Linked DNA regions of Homo sapiens: region 2 is linked to region 1. The links are contacts of gene promoters, found by promoter capture Hi-C in human tissues and cell types (Jung and others, 2019). All regions are on one chromosome and are shown on one strand. Each heading gives the region's core, a stretch centred on a gene start or on the middle of the fragment in contact. The rest is flanking DNA. Distances are from core to core; before and after follow the strand shown.

What was found. Contacts are between HindIII fragments. The study calls those that stand out against the background at their distance.
Region 2: a fragment that was not itself captured here is called in contact with the fragment with the promoter of SLC23A2 in region 1 in 2 of the 25 tissues and cell types used here (liver and spleen).

What each region holds. Positions count from the first base shown.
Region 1 is chr20:4,996,456-5,002,936 of GRCh38, forward strand. SLC23A2 (solute carrier family 23 member 2) reads right to left here and starts at 5,055. Exons shown (of 17, transcript NM_005116.6): 1 at 4,951-5,055. RefSeq lists enhancers at 2,043-2,543, 5,451-5,600, 6,385-6,481, silencers at 4,571-4,730, 4,921-5,160 and a promoter at 4,944-5,142. The HindIII fragment of the contact is 14,848 bases long and covers 4,369-6,481 here.
Region 2 is chr20:5,100,294-5,106,877 of GRCh38, forward strand. TMEM230 (transmembrane protein 230) reads right to left here. Exons shown (of 4, transcript NM_001009925.2): 3 at 5,895-6,017; 4 at 1-638. The coding sequence ends at 498. Among named protein-coding and RNA genes, the nearest start is that of TMEM230, 9.5 kb to the right of the region's middle. The HindIII fragment of the contact is 4,633 bases long and covers 1,353-5,985 here.

The DNA of each region.
Region 1 (6,481 bases), core at 3,805-6,304:
GGTGGGCGGATCACGAGGTCAGGAGTTTGAGACCAGGCTGGCCAACATGGTGAAACACCATCTCTACTAAAAATACAAAAATTAGCCGGGTACAGTGGTATGCACCCATAATCCCAGCTACTTGGGAGGCTGAGGCAGGAGAATCCCTTGAACCCGGGAGGCAGAAGTTGCAATGAGCCGAGGTCACACCACTGCACTCCAGCCTAGGTGACAGAGCAAGATTCCATCTCAAAAAAAAAAAAAAAAAAAAAAAACAACAACTCATGAGTGAAGATTTTCCTGATCACTGACCAGAGAAAACCACTCTCCTTTAAGGATGGAATTTCCATAGAGGGCCTTAGAGACACCTAGATCTGAGGTCACAGACTTGGCTGAGGTCACCTGAGGTCAAAGTCGAAAATTGGGACAAAGGACAATGAGAAGCTCCCAAGATTTATATTTCCATTGAGGATGACCTTCCCCAAAAATCTCCACCCTTGCTTTTCTGCTGCATTTGGGTATGCTGGGTTGGCATCACAACTTAACATGGCCTAAACCAGCTCCTCCAGCATCTCAGTTAATGGCCTCTTTCTTTCTAGGTGCTAAGACCAGAACCTCGGAGTCCTCCTCAGTTTTCTTTCTGGTTCATCAGCAAATCTCAACCTCACCTTGAAATCCCACTAGTCTCCCCTCAGCCCTGCATTCTGGCTGGTCTCCTTGCTGTCCTGCCTTCAATCTGTCTCACACAGCAACGCCTAGAGTGTGCTTGCTAAAAGCTAGATCAGTCCACCTCCCTTCTTTACTCCAAAACCCTCCAATGGCTTCTACCACCCTCAAGGTAAAATCTACCAGCCTTACAGTGGTCCGCATGGCCTTACATGATCTGACCCCCATGGTTTCTCTGACCTCAAGACCAAATTCTCCCCTCCTCCTGCCTCAGGGCCTTTGTATCTGCTGTTTCCTCCCCTCAGAATGATCCTTCTCCCAGATCTCCACATGCCTCACTCCCTACACATCTTTAGTTAAAAATGACTCAAGCCCTCTGCTATGAACTCAACTGTATCCCCCACCACCACCGAAAGAATTCATTATATTGAAGCCCTACCCCCACAATGTGGCTGTATTTAGAGATAGAGCCTTTAGGAGGTAACCAAGTTTAAATGAGTTCTTAAGGATGGGGCCCTGATCCAATAGGAAAACTTTATTTTTTTAAACAAAGTAGCTTTGTCACCCAGGCTGGTGTGCAGTGGCACAATCATGGCTCACTGCAGCCTCAACCTCTTGGGCTCAAGCAATCCTCCCACCTCAGCCTCCTGAGTAGCTGGGACTACAGGCACTACTACCACGTCCAGCGAATTTTTTATTTTATTTTATTTTATTTTGTAGAGACAGAGTCTTATTATGTTGCCTAGACTGGTCTCAAGTGATCCTCCTGCCTCAGCCTCCTGAAGTGCTGGGATTACAGGTGTGACCAACAGTGCTTGAACAGAAAGATAAATGGCACCAAGAAAAGGCCATGTGAGGACTCATCAAGAGGATGGCCACCTACAAGCCAGGAAGAAAGCCCTCACCAGAAACTAAAGAGGCCAGAACCTTGACCTTGGACTTCCCAGACTCCAGAATTATACGAAACAAATTTCCGTTGTTTAAGCCACCCACACTGTGCTATTTTTGTTATGGCAGTGTTAGCAGACTCATATACCTTCCTCCCTGTCTACCCTTCCAAAAATATCAACTCCCATCCCCACACTTAATCCCCCGAGCCTTGTCAGATTCCTCTTCACAGAACCAGATCTCATTGTCCACATCCCTACAGTGTGGGCTCCATGTGGGCTGGGAATCTCCCTGCAGCATCCCAAGCACCAAGAATATTACCCAGCACAGATCAGGCACTCAATGTAATAAATGTATGAAAGGCCTATGAAAGGTGCAAGCTGAAAGCAGACCTCAATTACAGGAGAGCCAAGAACCTAGAACCTGTGACGAAATAACAGGTTCAAAATAGCAAAGCCACAGAGAAAATGAGAAGAACGGCATAGCGCACAAAGGGCTCGTTTCAACCTAGAGGCTGCAATGCACAGCTTAACCTGGAGGAGGATGGTTCCCTACAGAAAGAATAAAAGCAAGCCCAGAGAACAACTGGAGGAATAGCAGGGCATGAAAATGAATTAATGAGGTGAGGTTACTGGGCACTGGGAACCAACAGACTGGTGTGTGAGAGTTTTATGGGCAAGGCCAGGAAACGGTTCAGGAAGGACTGTAAGATGTTTAAATTTAAAAAGCCTAAGAGGATTAAATATAAATACGTTTTTAAAAAGCTTCAATTTACATGTACAAAGCACCATATAATTTCAAATCATTACTGTTGATCTTTTTTTTTTTTTTTTTAGGAGACAGTCTCACTCTGTCACCCAGGCTGGAGTGCAGTGGCACGATCTCGACTCACTGCAAACTCCACCTCCCAGGTTCAAGCGATTCTCCTGCCTCAGCCTCCTGAGTAGCCGGAAATACAGGCATGCGCCACCATGCCCGGCTAACTTTTGTATTTTTAGTAGAGACGAGGTTTCACCATGGTGGCCAGGCTGCTCTCGAACTCCTGAGCTCAAGCGACCTGCCCGCCTCAGCCTCCCAAAGTGCTGCGATTACAGGCATGAGCCACCATGCCCAGCCCCGGCCTACTGCTTTTAATTACCTTAACCAAAATGGGAAAATTCCTCAAGCTACCAGTGGTACCAGAATATAGGTCCCCAAATAGATCCCTGGTTTGTCTTTAGAGACACTGAAGAGGACAACAATAGCCAATTCGGGATTTCAAACACCCCACAAACTAGACCTTAGGCTCTGTGAGGGCAAAAGACACAGTTTATTCAACAACGATCTGTTCAACAGAACCTGGTCACCAAGTGGATGGATGGATGGGCAGACACAGATGGACAGACTACTCAGTGGGTGGCTACATGTGCTTGCCTGCCCCGGGACACATGACTCACTTCTGCAATGCTACATAGACTAGAGTTTGCTCCATCAATGAGATAGATAGTATGGCATGAAACCTAGCAAAACCATCTACATTTTTCTAGCCAGGTACTGGTTTTTTTTAAGCTGGCCGCCATACTCAGCTATTTTTTTTTTTTTTTTATAGAAACAGGAGTCTTGCTGGGTTGCCTAGGCTGGTCTTGAACTCTTGGCCTCAAACAATCCTCCCACCTCAGCCTCCCAAAGTGCTGGGATTACAGGTGTGAACCACAACACCCGGCCCAGGTACTTCAATAGGCATTTTTTAAACATGTCAACAGATGTTTAAACTTAATTGACTTAATTGACCGTGCCACAGTCAGAGAATACAACTGCCAGACAACCATCTAAAATACTGTCAACATAAAAAGTTCCTGAAATACCTATTGTCTTAAAAAATCACCCTCCACTCTAAGCAAAGAAACCAAAAGAGAAATGCCTTGGTATTAAAAGAAAGAAGCTGGTTGCCATTTTGGCAAAGGAAATAGCCTAGAAAGCAGATACCTCATGCTCAGGATGTCACATGGAACAGGCTGGACACACCTGCTGCCTCCCTTTAACTAGCAGGTGTGCCATGAGAGCTTACACTGGGCACACCCACTGGTGCCCAAAAGCCATTAAATTGGGGATGAATGAAAAGAGAACAGTAGTAATACGTTCATAAGTGACCCTGATAGAGCCAACCATAACCCAGCACAGAATTCTGATTTTTTGAGCTGAAAAGGGCCCTTTATACATCTCACCAGGTTCAAACACCTTCAGGGGAGGCAGGCAACGTCACCTGCAACGGTGAAAAAGGCAGGTGTAGACAACCAGAAACGGTGAGGCCCAAACCCAACAGCATTCAAATACAAAAGCATAAAATAAAAATGCTCCAGCCACCCCAATTCCAGCCTTTTGCTTCAGAGAGGACGAAGCCGGCTGAGGGAGGTCACATGGCCAATTAGTGACAGCTCAAACCAGACTGCCTCCGGACTCCCAGTCCCATGTCCTCGCACATCCCGGGGCCTTCTCTGCGCGCAGATGACCCAATTGTCAGCAGGGACTGCATCTTCCCCCGCCCGTCTCCCAGCACTGCAAGAATAGAAGTAGCACCTACTACAAACGCTGCAGACCCAGAAAGCCCTTATGGGTGACTTTCTTCCACCTGCAGTTGCCCTCATTTACCCTTTGCCCTGACAATCGATAATTTCCCATCAGTCACGCTTAAACCCCCAGCCTGCAGGCCGACATCCTATCAGCCACCCATCCAAGGGGGGGCATCTAGGACCAAACGAAGGAGAAAATCCTGCGCCTTAAAGTAGTCACACTCGAAATGTCATTTTTTCCCCCCGAAAGGTGGCAAGGAGGGGGACTCGCGACCCCCCAGGGAACAGGCCAGAAAGGCCCCGGGGTCGGAGGAGCTGCTTCTAAAATTACTTCGCGCAGTCTTTGTAGAAGGGAAGAAAGCAAGAATGTAAAAGGCACCCTCTTGCCGCCCCTCCTGATGCCCCTGAATTCCAGGGGGCGAGACGATGCCCGTGCGCACCACCGGGGGAGGGGCGAGGGAAGCGACCCCAGGACGCGCGGGCGCAGAGCCCGGGAGGAGGCGGCGGCAGCCAGTGGGGTTCTGGGGGCGCCCCATTTGCCTCCCCGCTGCGCGGCCTGAGGGCCCGAGCGCGCTGTGGCTCCCGTGGCGGGAAGGGGTGGGTACCCCGGGGGCCCGGCCCGGCCGGCAGAACGGCAGGAGCTGAGGGCCGCCGGGCATCTTGGGCCCCGGGGCCAGGGTGGCCGGCGGGCGCGGGGTCCCGGGAGATGGGTCGGGGTGGGGGCGCGCAGGCCGCGCCGCGGGGCCGGTGGGTGACAGCGCGCGGGGGCCGTGCCAGGCCGGCCTCGTGGGCGCGGCGAGCACCTCGCGGCCCCGCCGGCAGGTGCGGCCCGCAGGCCGGGCAGGGGGCGCGGCGGCCGGGCTCTCACCTGGCTGCAGCTCGCGTGGTTCCCGTCCTGCCGCCGCGCCTCGGCGCCGCAGTGCCCGCTGCAGCCTCCGCCTCCGGTCCCCGCGACAGCCGCCTGCAAAATGGCGCCGCGGAGGGGCGGGCCGGGGGCGGGGTGCAGCGGAGCCGCCCGCCCCCGCGCCGGTCTGGGGCCCACCTCCCTCCCCGCCCCCGACCCCTGCCCTCGGGCCTCCCCCCGGGGAGGGGCTGCTCCCTGGCACCCGGCAGCGCTCCCCGGAACATCCCGGGCCTCGCACCCAGCCGTCCCCTTCCCGTTCCTTTCATTTCCCTCCCCTGCGCAGAAAGATCGCCCCCCTTCGCGACCCTTCCCACCAGTCACACCTGTTCCTGGGGACCCACCTGGCAAGCAGAGCGCTGGTCCCTGAGTGTCCTGGTCCAGGTCCCCCCTTTTTACCCCGCCTGCCACCGAGCCCTGTCATTGCTCGAGCGTGATAAGCAAGCAGTTTGTGGTGCATTGGGCTCAGTGGGTTGGATGTTTTAAAACAATTTCACCGCTTCTCCACTTAGGTAGCCAGTTTTTTTAACCTAACTGGAGAAGAAGTCCTTCTTACCTCATGCAGAGATCGTAATACAGACCAAGGCTTTTCAGACGTGAATTCTCTGGGGGTCGTGTTAGGCTAGGGGCGGGTTCACATTCAGTGGCTCTGGGGTGCAGCCCAAAAGTCTGCACTTCTAAATTGTCCCCAGGTGATGCCCCCGGGTGAGGTTCTTGGACCGCTAAGCAGAAAGGCCAAGTGTAAATCCCTGGCCCTCGGTCTTAGAGCTGGGCAGCCTCACTTTGAGGACTTCATTAAGATGCAGATGGCTGGGCCCCACCCCCAGAGTTGCTAAGGCTGGAGGTCTGGCGTGAGGCTCCAGAATCTGCATTTCTGCCAAGTTCCCAGGTGATGCTGATGCTACTGGTCTGGGGACCACACGTATTGAGCCACTGCTGAAATCTGAATACAATTTTTTAAATGTTCTAATAATTAGTACTTTCTTAACACCTTCCATCTTGAAACCGTTGTCATGGTTGCTTTACTAACTGAATGATAATGTACTAGTTCCCGGGCAACTCTTGAGAAACAGAATTGTAGACGGTGTCTGTCTGACCTCACATGGAGAGAAATTGATTTTATAATCAGAATTATTTATGTGTTTTACACAGTTTTGGAAAGTGACATCACACATATTAATGCAGTTGGGGGAGCAGCAACTAAAGGAATTTTATGAAATAGGCAAGTGTGGTCTGTGTCTTGACAATAATGTGTCTTCCCATTTATTTATCTAATAACTGCATTTTTATTTGCTTATATTTAATTTTTTAGAGACAAGGTCTCACTCTGTCACCCAGGCTGGAGTGCAACGGCACAATTAAGGCTGCAGCATCAACCTTCCAGGCTCAAGGGATCCCCCAACCTTGGCCTCCTAAGTAGCTGGGATGACAGGACCACACCACCAGGTCCAGCTAAGCTTGGTTTTATGCGTCACGGGCGCCCATCCTTAACCTTGAC
Region 2 (6,584 bases), core at 2,419-4,918, 100 kb after region 1:
AATATTACAGATGAACTCACTGATCTTTGATTTTACTAAGGTCTTCCACTGGAACATGAAGGTAGGGATAAGTGTACAGGATAATATACTCAGATATTTTTAAAATAAATTACTTAATAATAAGAAATTAGCCATACCACATTGTTCCATTTGCTACAAGAACAAATTGGCAATGAAGACTATTTAAAAGAAATGCTCAGCTCTACAGAGGGTGGTGGCAGGCAACACTTTTCCATTACAGAATAACCTCTATTCTTCCATGATACATATTCCTGTGGAAAAACTTGTCAGGGCCCAGGGATGAAAAATAGAGCTTGTCCTAATTAGCTAACTGTAGGTTCACTTAACATCTTTGGGAAGGACCCAAAAAATCTGGCCATTATTTTCTTAAACATCTGCAAGCTGCAGAATTCCTTAGTCCTCAGCTATAGTTTCTGCTAGATATCTTAAAGCTGGGACAGTTCCACTGTGACTCCTCCTCAGCTATGGGGTGGGTGCTAGTCATCAAAGTCTGGAATGTCATCATAGGAGTAACCACGGTAGCCTTTGGATGCATAGTAAGCGATGCGCAGGTGGTAAAATCCGGGTAGGAACACCAGAATGCCAATGATCAGCACTGGAACGGCCCGGTCTGCCCCCTGGTGGCAGAAGGAGGCAAACACATTAGTACCGTAAGAGTTACACATTTTAAAATAAAACGTCACAGACCTAATCCTTAGATCAGTATTTTATACTCTTCAGTACTTTTTCTTTGAGTTGTATACCACCAAGGGAAAAGGTTTCCTCCTGATTATAAATTGAAGACAAACTACAAAATATTAACAATTATAAAGAAAAAAATGACCCATTCTCATCCAGATATTTTGGCTTCTTTTCCTTTTTTTAAAGCTCTTAGTTGTGAACACACCATACTCTGTGTCCTGTGGCCAATATTATTAAAACCTTTTCATACATTTAAACTGTAAGGATGTGTAACATTCCACCGAAATGGACATACTACAGTTTTACCTAACTGCCCCACATACAGCTGCTGGACACTTTGGTTGTTTTTCACCTTTTGTAATTGTACAGATACCACTACAATAAACTCTGTGTTTTTCTCAGCCTTTCAGGTTTTCTTTTCTTTCTCTTTTTTCTTTTTTTTTGAGGTAAGAGTCTTGCTCTGTTGCTCGGGCTGGAGTACAGTGGTGTGATTACAGCTCACTGCAACCTCGACTTCCCAGGCTCAAGTGATCCTCCCACCTCAGCCTCCAAGTAGCTGGAGTTACAGGTGTCAGTCACCATACCTGGCTCATTTTGTACATTTGTTTGTTTGGTAGAGATGAGGTCTCGCTATGTTGCCCAGGCTGGTCTCGAACTCTGGGGCTCAAGCAATCCTCCTGCCTCAGCCTCCCAAAATGCTAGAATTATAGGCTTGAGCCACTGCACCTGGCTGGCTGTGTTCCCTGTTGTGTGTTAATTATAGTCAGAATTGGTTCAAGACAACTTGGACACTGTGTATGTGGGGACAGCCCATGAGAAAGAACCACCAACTACTTTAGGTTTCTAAGGTTTCATATTGAAGCTCAACAGGAACTCCAACCAAACCTACTGTAAGAAGGAACTGACTTACGAGGCACAGTGACCCCACACATATAACAGAATTGCTATTTCTCTCCAAATACTGACAGTATGTCCATGGCACTGCACAGCTACAATGACAGCATGCTGCTCCAGCTACAGCCCTTTACCAATCAGGACTCCTGTATGCCAGGCTCAGCCATGTTGTTCCAAACTATGACAGGGCAAACTGTCTAATATCTCAGAGGCCAAGTTTGCCTACCTGCCACCACCTCCCCTATAGGAACTATGGAAGTTTACTGTTGCTCAAAGGAAGAAAAACATGTTTTGCCAACAGAGAACAAAATGTAAAAGAAAATCTTTTTGGTTTTTCTGCTGGAATCTGCTGTACCAGACATGAATATAAAAACAAAGATTGAACAATGAAAAAAATCTAAAACCTGAATAGACAAAGAGTAATGAGATTAAGGCCATAATAAAAAGTCTCTTAGCAGAGAGAAGCCTGGGACTAGATGGTTTCGCTGCTGAATTATACCAGTTAAAGAATTAATACTTGGCTGGGCATGGTGGTTCACTCCTGTAATCCCAGCACTTTGGGAGGCCAAGGCAGGCAGATCGCTTGAGCTCAGGATTTCAAGACCAGCCTGGTCAACATGGTAAAATCCTGTCTTGACAAAAAATACAAAAATTAGATGGGCATGGTGGTATATGCCTGTGGTCCCAGTTGCTAGTGAGGCTGAGGTGGCAGGATCACATAAGCCGGGGAGGCAAAGGTTGCAGTGAGCTGAGATCGCACCACTGCACTACACCTGCATGACAGATGAGACCCTGTCTCAAAAAAAAAAAAAAAAAAAAAGAATACTAATCCTACTGAAACTATTCTGAACAGACATGGAGAGAATACTTCCAAACTGATTCTACTAGGCCAGTTTTACCCTGATACCAAAACTAGGCAAAGACACATCGAAAAAACAAAAATAGGCCAATATCCCTGATGAACATTGATGCAAAAATCCTCAATAAGGAGGATAATACTAGCAAACTGAATTCAACAATACATTAAAAAGATCATTCATCAGGACCAAGTGGGATTTATCCCAGAGAGGCAAGGATGGTTCAACTTATACAAACCAATCAATGTGATAAAATCGTATCAGCAGAATGAAGGACAAAAACCATATGATTATTTCAATCGATGCTAGAAAAGCATTTGATAAAATTCTACATCCACCGGGTGTGGTGGCTCACGCCTGTAATCCCAGTACTTTGGGAGGCTAGGGTGGGCCTCACACTGACCATAATTAACACACAACGGGAAACATAGTCAGAGGGGTGCAGTGGCTAAAGCCTGTAATTCCAGCACTTTGGGAGGCTGAGGCAGGAGGATTGCTTGAGCCTAGGAGTTTAAGACCAGCCTGGGCAACATAATGAGATCTCATCTCTACCAAACAAACAAAAAAATTAGCTAGGTATGGTGACTCACACCTGTAACTCCAGCTACTTGGGAAGCTGAGGTGGGAGGATCGACTGAGCCCTGAAGATTGAGGTTGCAGAGAGCTGTGATCACACCACTGTACTCCTGGACTGCTTGAGTCTAGGAGTTCGAGATCAGCCTGGGCAACACGGCAAAACCTCATCTATACAAAAAATGAAAAAAAAATTAACCAAGTGTGGTGGCACATGCCTGTGGTCCCAGTTATTTGGGAGGCTGAGGTTGCAGTGAGCCGAGATGGTGCCACTGCACTCCAGCCTGGATGACACAGTGAGATTCTGTCTCAAAAAAAAAAAAACAAACAAAAAAACCAAAAAACAAAAAAACATACACTGGGGAAAGAACCAGTCTTTTCAATAAATGGTATTAGGAAAACTGGATATCCATATGCTGAAGAATGAAACTAGACCCCTCAAATCTCTTGACATATACAAAAATCAAATGAGAATGGATTAAACACTTAAATGTAAGACCTAAAACTATGAAACTACTATAAGAAAACATGGGGGAAACTCTCCAGGATGCTGGACTGGGCAAAGATTTCTTGAGTAATGCCCCCAAAAGCACAAGCAACCAAAACAAAAACAGATAAATGAGATCACATCCGGTTAAAAAGCTTCTGTACAGCAAAGGAAGAGACAACCCACAGAATGGGAAAAAATATATGCAAAGTATCCATCTGACAAGGAATTAATAACCAGAATATATAAGGAGCTCAAACTCTGTAGGAAAAAAAATCTAATAATCCAATCAAAAATGGGCATTTCTCAAAAGAAGACATACAAATGGCAAATAGGTATATGAAAAGGTGCTTAACATCATTGATCAAAGAAATGCAAATCAAGACTACAATGAGATATCATCTCATCCTAGTTAAAATGGCTTTTTAAAAAATATAGACACAAGGTCTCGCTATGTTGCGCAGGCTGGTCTCGAACTCCTGGGCTCAAGTGATCCTCCTGCCTCGGCCTCCAAAAGTGCTGGGACTACAGGCGTGAGCCACTGCACCCAGCCAAAATGGCTTTTATCCAAAAAAAACGGCAATAACGAATGCTAGCGAGGACGTGGAGAAAAGGGAACCCTCGTACAATGTTGATGGGAATGTAAATTAGTATAGCCACTATGGAGAACAGTATGAAATAGAACTACCATATGATCCAGCAATCACAGCTAGGTATATACCCAAAAGAAAGGAAATCAGTTTATCAAAGAGGTATCTGCACTTCCATATTTATGACAGCACTATTCACAACAGCCAAGATCTGGAAGCAACCAAAGTGTTCTTCAACAGACAAGTGAATAAAGAAAATATGGTACATATATGCAATGGAGTACTATTCAGCCACTAAAAAGAATGAGATCCTGTCACTTGCAACAACATGGATGAAACTGGAGAACGTTATGTTAAGTGAAATTAAGCCAGGCACAGAAAGACACACTTTCCATGTTCTCACTCATTTGCGGGAACTAAAAATTAAAACAATTGAACTCATGGATATTGTAGAATGATGGTTACCAAAGGCTGGGAAAGGTAGGGGGGAATGGGGAAGGTTAACGGGTACAAAATATAGTTACATAGAATGAATAAGCTCTAGTATTTGATAGCACAAAGTGACTAGAGAATAATTTATTGTACATTTAAAAATATAATAACTAAGGCTGGACGTGGTAGCTCACGCCTGTAATCCCAGCACTTTAGGAGGCCCACGCGGGCAGGCCGCTTGAGGTCAGGAGTTCATGACCAGCCTGGCCAACATGGCAAAAACCCATCTCTACTAAAAATACAAAAATAAGCCAAGTGTGCTGGCTTGCCACCATAGTCCCAGCTAACTCAGGAGGCTGAGGCAGGAGAATCACTTGAACCCACGAGCCGGAGTTTGCAGTGAGCTGAGATCCTGCCACTGCACTCCAGCCTGGGTGACAGAACAAGACTCTGTCTCCAAAATATATATATATGTATGTATGTATGTATGTGTATATGTATATATATAACTAAAAATAGGCCAGGCACAGTGGTTCATGCCTGTAATCCCAACACTTTGGGAGGCCAGCCTGGGCAACATGGCGAAACCCCATCTCTACTAAAAATACCAACATTAGCCGGGTGCGGTGGCGCACGTCTGTAATTCCAGCTACTCGGGAGGCTGAGGCACAAGAATAGCATGAACCTGGGAGGCGGAGGTTGCAGTTAGCCGATATTATGCCACTGCACTCCAGCCTGACTCTGTCTCAAAATAAATAAATAAATAAAAGTATAATTGGAATGTAATACAAATGATGAATGCTTGAGGGGATGGATACCCCATTTAGCCTGATGTGATTATTATGAATGCATGGCTGTATCAAAATACCTCATGTATCCCCTAAGTATATACACCTACTATGTACCCATAAAAATTGGAAAAAAAATTGGCCAGGGGCAATGGTTCACACCTGCAATCCCAGCACTTTGGAAGGCTGAGGCAGGCAGACTGCTTGACCTCAGGAGTTAGAGATCAGCCTGGGCAACATAGTGAAACCCTGTCTCTACACAAAATAAAACAAACAAAAATAAGTAAATAAAAAATAAAATTAGCTGGGTGTGGTGGCACACACGTGTAGTCCCAGCTACTCGGGAGGCTGAGGTGAGAGGATCGCTTGAGCCCAGGGAGGTAAAGGTTGTGCCACTGCACTCTAGCTTGGATGACAGAGCAAGACCCTGTCTCAAAAAAAACAGACCACTGGGACGGACAAACACACACACACACACACACACACACACACACACACACACACGCACACTAGAGCCTTGGCTAACATTTTAAAAATCTCACAACTTATTCCCACATGCCCGTCAGCTTACCCCTTTGCTGATGTAGCCTGACAGCAGGAGGGAGCCTATAATAATGAGAAAGGCGCCAATCAAAAACAGCACAGTGGCAAGTGCGATGGCCTTATAAGGGATCTTAGGAGGGGTTTTCTTAAACTGGAAGAGAAATAGAGATGAAAAAGACAACGAAGAACATTAATGCAAATACCTGGGTTCAAACATTTAATTAATTATTTGTAATTTTTATGTTTTTGTTTGTTTGTTTTGAGATGGAGTTTCGTTCTTGTTGCCCAGGCTAGAGAGCAATGGCGTGATCTTGGCTCACTGCAACCTCTGCCTCCTGGATTCAAGTGATTCTCCTGTCTCAGCCTCCTGAGCAGCTGGGGTTACAGGTGCCCGCCACTACACCCAGCTAATTTTTTTGGTATTTTTAGTAGAGACAGGGTTTCACCTTGTTGACCTGGCTGGGCTTGAACTCCTGACCTCAGGTGATCCGCCCGCCTCGGCCTCCCAAAGTGCTGGCATTACAGGCGTGAGCCACCGCGCCCGGCCTAATTTTTATGATTTTAGAGACGGAGTCTTGCTCTATCACCCAGGCTGGAGTGCAGTGGTGCAATTACAGCTCATTGCAGCCTCGAACTCCTGGGCTCAAGCAATTCTCTTGCCTCATCCTCTCAAGTAGCTGGGACTACAAGTATACGTCACCATGCCCAGCTAATTTTT